Linked DNA regions of Homo sapiens: region 1 is linked to region 2. The links are contacts of gene promoters, found by promoter capture Hi-C in blood cells and fetal thymus (Javierre and others, 2016). All regions are on one chromosome and are shown on one strand. Each heading gives the region's core, a stretch centred on a gene start or on the middle of the fragment in contact. The rest is flanking DNA. Distances are from core to core; before and after follow the strand shown. Region 1 overlaps ZBTB10 (zinc finger and BTB domain containing 10). Region 2 holds the start of ZNF704 (zinc finger protein 704).

What was found. The method cuts DNA at HindIII sites, captures the fragments that hold promoters and counts their contacts. A CHiCAGO score of 5 or more calls a contact.
Region 1: a contact is called between a fragment that was not itself captured here and the fragment with the promoter of ZNF704 in region 2, in 1 of 17 cell types (fetal thymus). The highest score is 6.3, in fetal thymus.

The regions. Positions count from the first base shown.
Region 1 is chr8:80,489,190-80,493,311 of GRCh38, reverse strand. All of the region lies in intron 1 of ZBTB10 (zinc finger and BTB domain containing 10), which reads right to left. Among named protein-coding and RNA genes, the nearest start is that of ZBTB10, 5.0 kb to the right of the region's middle. The HindIII fragment of the contact is 4,296 bases long and covers 489-4,122 here.
Region 2 is chr8:80,873,435-80,877,745 of GRCh38, reverse strand. ZNF704 (zinc finger protein 704) reads left to right here and starts at 2,965. Exons shown (of 9, transcript NM_001033723.3): 1 at 2,965-3,175. RefSeq lists a silencer at 4,086-4,286. The HindIII fragment of the contact is 1,917 bases long and covers 2,721-4,311 here.

The DNA of each region.
Region 1 (4,122 bases), core at 1,387-3,886, 380 kb after region 2:
TTTTTCATCCTGCACAGCAACCAAACTCTCCCTTCTCTAAGATACCATTCTTCACTTTCCTCAGGCTGTGTGTGTGTGTGTGTGTGTGTGTGTGTGTGTGTGTGCGCGCGCGCGCGCGTTTTGAGGCACAGTCTTGCTTGTCGCCCCAGTTGGAGTGCAGTGGGGTGCCTGCTAGGTTCAAGTGATTCTCCTGCCTCAGCCTCCCAAGTAGCTGGGATTACAGGCACCTGCCACCACGCCTGGCTTATTTTTGTATTTTCAGTAGAGACGGGGTTTCACCATGTTGGCCAGGCTGGTCTCGAAGTCCTGACCTCAAGTGATCCACCCACCTCGGCCTCCCAAAGTGCTGGGATTACAGGCATGAACCACTCACTGCGCCTGGCTCCTCCTTAGGCTGTTTCTAATTGCACTGCCTAAATGCCCTCCCCATCCTGGTCAACACCTATTAATTAAATGCAATTAAAATTCAAGAATCAGTTGTACAAGCTTCTTCCAACCTTTGCAGGTAGAACTGATCACTCCCTTAAGAATCTTCAGGCCGGGTGCGTGACTCACGCCTGTAATCCCAGCACTCTCGGAGGCCGAGGTGGGCAGATCACGAGATCAGGAGATAGAGACTATCCTGGCCAACATACTGAAACCCCGTCTCTACTAGAAATACAAAAATTAGCCTAGCATGGTGGCATGTGCCTGTAGTCCCAGCTAATCAGGAGGTTGAGGCAGAAGAATCACTTGAACCCAGGAGGCGGAGGTTGCAGTGAGCCCAGATCACACCACTGCACTCCAGCCTGGGTGACAAGTGAGACCCCATCTCAAAAAAAAAAAAATTCTTCAATGTACCCTGATTATATACTGCTACCATGTTATCTGTGTCTTTTTTCGGTCATGTCTGTCTCTCCTTACTAAACTACAAGTTCCTTGAGGGCAGAGAGAATGAATGTTAACAAAACATACAGATTTTTATCTCCAGTGCTTTGCCAACCTAATACAGCTAAATTTAAGATGGAGAAGGAAGCTAATCCTAGGTACACAATAAGGTATACAGTCAGACACTGCTAACAAGTTTGAAAAGCACAAGGGCTATGAACTAGCTGTTACTGAATAAAACACAAAGAATAAATTATAAATAATGTAAAATATATAAATAAGAAACAACGGAATTTAATGGGCTACAGGCTCAACTCTAATCGATTTTTCCTCAGTGAAAGGTCTTTCAGACTTTCTTCCTAAAGTGTTAAAAACCAACCAAGTAACCAACCAACCAACCTTCCGCCCTTATTTCTGCCATAAACAAATTAGGCTGATAGATCTGCCTTACATTCTTTTGTTTGCTCAGCTACTGACATCAATATATTCCAACTGGAAATTTCAATCAGATCACTGGTCTGAATTCATTACTTAGTTTCTGTAAAGGTTAACTAAATTTACAACAATAATACATTTGGATGCATGTTTCTCCCAGGAAGAGTTGACAGGATGTGTGATTTAGGCTATGAAAATTTCACAATTAGGTAGAAAGTGGTCTAAACCAAGAATAACTGGTAATCACTGTTATTAAGGAATTTTAAAGTCTTCTGGGCCAAATGGTCAGATACTGAATGAGCTAATCATTAAACCTGACTCTGACGATGTAGTCAATTGTTACTCAAAATTAAACTATTAATTGTCCCTCACATCCTTATAAATACAGGGACACCTCGGAAATAGAAGGCTCAAAACACAGACTCAGAAAGCATGTTTTAAAAGACTTTCCCATGAACAGTCCACAATAACCAAGGTCCAATTAACAGAAGGATTAACTTTTTGGTAACTACCAAGGGATTAACAAAAAGATACTTTTCTTACTTAGAGGAAAGTAACCTTTCATGACATACAGTTATGCATCACTTAACGAGAGGGATATGATCTGAGAGATGCATCGATTTTGTCACTGTGCCTTAGCGTACACAAACCTAGATGGTATAACCTACTACACACCTAGGCTATATGGTTGGGCCTATTGCTCCCAGACTACAAATCTGTACACTATGTTACTGTAAGGAATACTTTAGGCAACTGTAACACAATAGTATTTGTGTATCTAATCTATCTAAACATGAAAAAGGTACAGTAAAAATATGGCACACCTTATAGGGCACTCACCATGAACAGAGCTGGCATACCTGGAAGCTGCTCTGGGTGAGTCAGTGAGTGGTGACTGAATGAAAGGCCTAGGACATTACCATACACTGCTGTAGATTTTATGAGCACCGTACACTTAGGCTACACTAAGTACAGACAGGGTCTCACCATGTTGGTCAGGCTGGTCTCGAACTCCTGACCTCAAGTGATTCACCCACCTCGGCCCCGCAAAGTGCTGGGATTACAAAACAAAGTACGCTACAACTTTACGCTATCACCAGGCGATAGTAATTTTTCAGCTCCGCTATAATCTTATGGGACCATTATCATAAATGCAGTCCATCCTTGAGAACGTCATGCAGTACATGACTGTGTTAAGATGTGGCCAAATTCCTCTCAGAAACGGGACTCTTTGAGAAATAATTGGGAAAATAGGAGTTTAGTACTCCTAGACTCAAAGTGATTTCTTGCCTAAAGAATTCTAAAACTCTCATTTCCATGTTTTTAAGACAAGATATTAAGAGTGTCTTTGTGAAGCTGAGAAAAACTGCATGTATGAGAAATAGGCTCAGAATGTTCAAAGAACCTGATGGCCACAAAGTCTCTGAAGGTATAAAAAGGAGAACTGATTGGTGATCAAAATGAGTAATAACGGCCAGGCTCAGTGGCTCACACCTGTAATCCCAGCATTTTGGGGAGGTCAAGGTGGGAGAATTGCTTGAGCCCAAAAGGTTGAGACCAGCCTGGGCAACATAGCGAGACTCCCGTTTCAACAAAAAACTTAAAAATTAGCCAGGAATGGTGGCGCGCACCTGTAGTTCTAGCTACTCGGGAGGATGCCTGAGCCCAGGAGGCTGCAGTGAGCCTTTATCTCACCACTGCACTCCAGCCTGGGCAATAGAGTCACTGTCTCAAAAAAACAAAACAAAAAGGTAATAATGATAATAAATAACGGCACTAAGTGGTTTTATGCTGGCACATATACTTTGCATACATAACGAAACTAGAAGTTAACTAATTTGCCTGCCTAAAAAGTAGAGATTTAAGAGCAAAGTCCTCTGACCTTAAGCCCAAGTAGGCGCTTACATTACGTGTTGTGTTATACTGCCTCCTATAGGTAATTGGAGACTGAAGAAAAACGAAAAACAAAATGATTGCACTCTGCCCAAAAGAGATCAGGAACCTGTTACTCATGTTACTCATGTTAAGACAAACAGGTATTTATATAGGTGGTACCTGGGGGGTTGATAACAAGATATCCCCTCAAGATTAGTTATAATGAAAGTAATAAATGATTAAGATCAATTCAAAGTGAAAACACCCAAAATCCAATCAAGGAGACCAATATATAACCTTAGGACACACAGGACTTACTAAAACTGTAGCCCTTAATATATGTATATTGTATAGAATGTCCCAAAGAAAGGAGATGGCCTGCAGATTACATTGATGGGGGAATTTAAAGGAGTGATGAGGAAGAGAGTCGTAGTTCGGGTCAAGTTTAGAAAGGTTTTTCCTAGGAATTCCAAGACGCAGATACATACCCAGAGGAGAAGAATACACTCAAGCTGAGGCTACCTTAAGGTTATCCAATTAATGCCCCTTCTTCTGATTTCAGGTTCACTAAAGGAGCTAATTATAATTTGCATTCCCATTCAGATTTGCCTACAGGGAGAGACTATGCTGATAAAGAGGAATTGGTCCACAGCCGATTAAGAAAATTCATCCCATTTAAAATTTTCTAAGTAACCAACATAGCCCTATTTGGAAAATTAAACTTTCATTTTCACAAGTCCCTTGCAACTCCATCATCTTACTACATAACTTCAGGAATGTTACTTAACCCTTTAAGGCTTTAGATTCCTCTTCTGTAAAATGGGAACAAAAAATAAATACTTTGCAGAATAAATGTGTTTGGCACACGGAAAACCAGGAGCTGTTAGTTCCATTTCACTCTATTGCCCAAGCTCACAAAGCTAGTTAATTGCAGAAAGCTGAGAT
Region 2 (4,311 bases), core at 1,716-4,215:
CCAGCACCAAGAACAAGACCTGGCACTTGTCAGGACTCAACAAATCCATGCAGAATGAACGATGAAATGTTTTAGATGAGGATGTGTTCAATCCAACTGTTCTGGAGGGGCTCCTTCTTTATCCCATGGCTCAGAGGCACATTTCCTCATTCTGAGTGGCAAGCGCTCCCAGTTTTGGAAGAAAAAAATGTGTTACACTTAGGGAATGTGGGGGAAAGAAGCAGCAATGACTCTTCCCCACTTGCTTGGCATCACAAGATACTTTTTGACTTCTGAGCCCATGTCATGCATGTAGTGTGTCATGTGCCCACATCATGAGATCTTTTCTTGATTCCTGATGAGTTAATTTGATTTTATTCCCACTAAGTGTCCTCTGATTTAATGAGGGTGGTCTTCAGTGGCCTGCACTTGCCTAGACAATGCTGCTCTCCCTGCCTGAACAGATCCTTCTCATCCCTCAAAGCCCAGCTTGGGTGAAACCTCTTTTTTGACATTAGCCTTCATTTAATGGTTTGAAAGCCAAGGCCAGGTCTTTTTTTTTTTTTTTTTTTTTTTTTTTTCCCATTCAGAGGCAGCCTTTCCAGCAATGTGGGGCCAGGGAATGGATGTCTATGAAGTCTATTGAAGTGGCCTAAGAGAAACAATAAGCTGATTTCAAAGCATATACAGCAATTTTAAAAGAATGTACAATAGTGTATCATCTTTCACTAAGTCACAAATGCCAATCACCAATTCATTTAACTCTGTATTTCCTCTAGGTTCTCAGGAAAACATTTACTTTCTTTCATCTATAGCAATTTTAGGCACAAAAAGCTACATGCTTGGCCTGACCATGGTCCTCCGATGACAAGTTGTTGGTCTTTAAAAGCACATTTTGCTAGTTACTGACATTACTGAGCTTACTTAAAAGAGAGCTACCTTGTTATTCTCTGAGAGTATCCCAAGCCACCTTGTTTACCTACCATTACAATGTTTAGTATGATAAGCCCGCATATAAACCCTAGCTTGTCCCAGGCACTCTTGTAAGCTGATTGCATTTATTCACTCATTACTCTGCAAAACAACTTTACTACTATGATCCCCATTTCACAGATGAGGAAACAGGCACAGAAAGAGGATGAGTAAAAGTAAAGCTGGTAAGTTCCAGAGTCAGGATTCGGACCTAGGTGCTCCTGAGACCATGTGCCTAACTACTAGCCAGCTTGCCTCACACCTTTGTCCTCCTCCACCTCCTCCATACCTGTCTGCCCACCCCTTGCCCCGATCTTTCCTTTTCATGGCCAGAGAAAGATCCTGCTGCCTCACTCTAAAATCATCTCCCAAATCAACGAAGCTAAATTTCTTCCAATTGGGATGAAACCACCTTAATGTTCTTTCTTAATTCTTTGCACACTCTAGCTGATACTGATTATTCACTTATTGGCTAGCCCCTGCTATTCCATGCTTTGATCAGACACACCCATCTCTTAATGTTCTGTTTTCTTCTCTCTGAATTCCTGAACAGAATATTTACAAATATAAAGTCCAACAAGAAAATGGTGTGATCTAAATGGGGTTTCGGAAACATAAATCTGGTGGTGGCATCTGAGGAGGGAAAGGGAGGGTGTGTGGGTGAGAAAATGGGTGTGTAGAACTGTTAGAAACTTCCACTTTTGAAGTCACAAAATGCTGTAAGAGCTTTGGGAATGGAAAGGAAGGGGTGGATTCAAAATGCATTTTAGAAAGAACAATGGGTTGGACTTGTGGGCAATTGCCTCTAGGGATAAGGTAGAGAAGGGAGTTAAAATGATACCGCTATTTTGGGCTCAAATGATTATAATGAGAGTTTCATCACCTGAAATAGGTACATCAGGAAGCTAATCTGATTCAGGGAGAACAAAAAGTTCATTTTAGAATCTTTGTCATCATCCCTGTTCAACAGTTGGAAGCCACCATAAGTGAGCATTTAATGAGCCCCATTCAAGTGTCTAACAGAGCATATGATGTTAAATGTCCAACAATAATTAACTGAAGGTGAATACACCTTTTATTCTGGCCCCACGGAGGTGCCTACCAGGGTATTTGATGCGTAAGATCCTCCCCAGCCCTCCTCTACAGGGATGGAATTGGGGGTATGATTTGAATGTAAGAAATACGACTTAAGGCCGGGCACGGTGGCTCACACCTGTAATCCCAGCACTTTGGGAGGCCAAGGCAGGCAAATCATCTGAGGTCAGGAGTTTGAGACCAGCCTGGCCAACATGGTGAAACCCTGTCTCTACGAAAAATACAAAATTAGCATGGCATGGTGGAGCGCGCCTTTAATCCCAGGTACTCAGGAGGCTGAGGCAGGAGAATCGCTTGAACCCAGGTGGCGGAGGTTACAGTGAGCCCAGACCATGACATTGCACTCCAGCCTTGGCAACAAGAGCGAAACTCCATCTGAAAAATAAAGAAATATATATAAATAAAAATTAAAATAAATAAAAGAAGAAATACCACTTACTACATAGCCTAACCCCACGCAATAGCAAATATATTTTCTTTATCACACCTAAAAATCGTCAGAAAATGGCAAAATTAGTCATGTTATGTGCTTGATTTCCAGATTTGGTCTTACTTCATATTAATTTCTTAAGTAACCAACTCAAACGATCTTGAACTCCCACCCATTTGTTTCTTCAAAGTCCTGAACAATGCCAGAAGAGAGTCTACAGATCAGACAGTGCAAACAGAAAGCTTCTTGGAATTCAGCCATTAAAATCAGGCACTCAAGGTAGAATAGCAGGAGTAAAAGCTGAAAGACCTACACACTCAGCACAGAGCCAAGGCAGCTCAATCGCAGGGCCTAGAGTGGTGCGTTCAAAGAGTGTGAGATTGGTAGACAATCGCTCATGAAACAGTGTTTCGAAAATCTAAGCGACTCTGATGATTCATATTAGGAATTCATCCCAAACCTCAGATTGGTACACCTTCCTTGATTTCACACAAGCTCAGGAGTAGCTGCCATGCACATCAGTGTCCATTAAAATGACTTGTAGCAAATCTCTACGTTCAAAGTCTAACTTTGACAGACAACCTTACTTCCAGCGAAGTCTACTCCCCTCCCTCCGGAGGGAAGAATGGGCTGCGGTTAAGCGTTTGCCCTGGTGTCAGGGCCAACTGCTTCGAAGCGCCAGACTTTCGGAGACTGTGGGTAAGAGAAAAAAAAAATCCAGTCCGGGTTTTGTCTGAGCGGGGGGACCGGAGGGTTGTGAGGAATGGCTCGCGAAGAGGGGGGCGGTGGTGGAAAACATACAACACAAACAGCTCGCGCCGAGGCACGGCAGCGGTAGGCCCGGAGCGCGCGGGCGCAGCCGGCCGGGAGAGGCGCGCGCGGGCTCGGCCGCCGGCCGCATGGAGCGCAGCGCGGCCCGCGGCTCCCGGGCGGCGGCGGCGGCGGCGGAGGCGGCAGCGCGCCGCTCGCTCACACCCACCCCCGCCCGCGGCCGCCGCGCCGCCCCGCCGTAGCCGCCGGCCGCCGGCGTCCCCGCCGGCCGGTCCAGCGAAGGCGGCGCCCGCGCCTCTGCAGCCAGTGGCAGCCGCGGGTCCTGGCCGGCGGCTCCTGCAGCCCCTTGCGGCCGCGAGTCCCCGGCCCTGCGGCCACCGGCGGAGGCAGAGGAGGAAGAGGAGGTGACAAACTCTCCGGCCCCGCGCCGCGGCCCGCAACCCCGCGCTCAGGCATGCAGGCGCGGCGTCTAGCCAAGCGCTCCAGCCTGGGCAGCCGCCGGGGGGGCGCCGCGCTGCAGCCTGCCGGGCCGGCGCCCGCGCCCGCCAAGGAAGCCGCCCTACCCGGGCTCCCGCCCCCTGTCCCGGGCCCGGCCCCGGCGCCCGCCCCGGAGAGCTGGAGGCCGCCGCTGCCGCCGCCGCCGCGCAGCGCCGGGACCGGCCCCCCTCGGGCCACCGGGGCCGCCGCCGCCGCCTCGTCGCCGGTGCTGCTGCTTCTAGGGGAGGAAGACGAGGACGAGGAGGGCGGGAGCAGGCGGCGGAGGGGGCTCGGGCGTGTGGAGGAGAAGCCCCGAGGGGGCGCGGAGGAGGAGGATGACGACGAGGAAGAGGAGGACGAGGAGGTGGTCGTCGAGGTGGTGGACGGCGACGAAGACGACGAGGACGGCGAGGAGCGTTTCGTGCCCCTCGGACCCGGCCACGCAGTCCCCAGGGGCCCGGCCCGGGGCGCGTTGAAGGTGCGTGTTGGGCGCGGTGGCGCGCGTGGGACCCGCCAGCCCGGGGAGGGGGACGGGCCCGGGCCCCGGGGCAAGGCGCCTGGCCGAGGACGGTCAGCGGCGCCGGGGA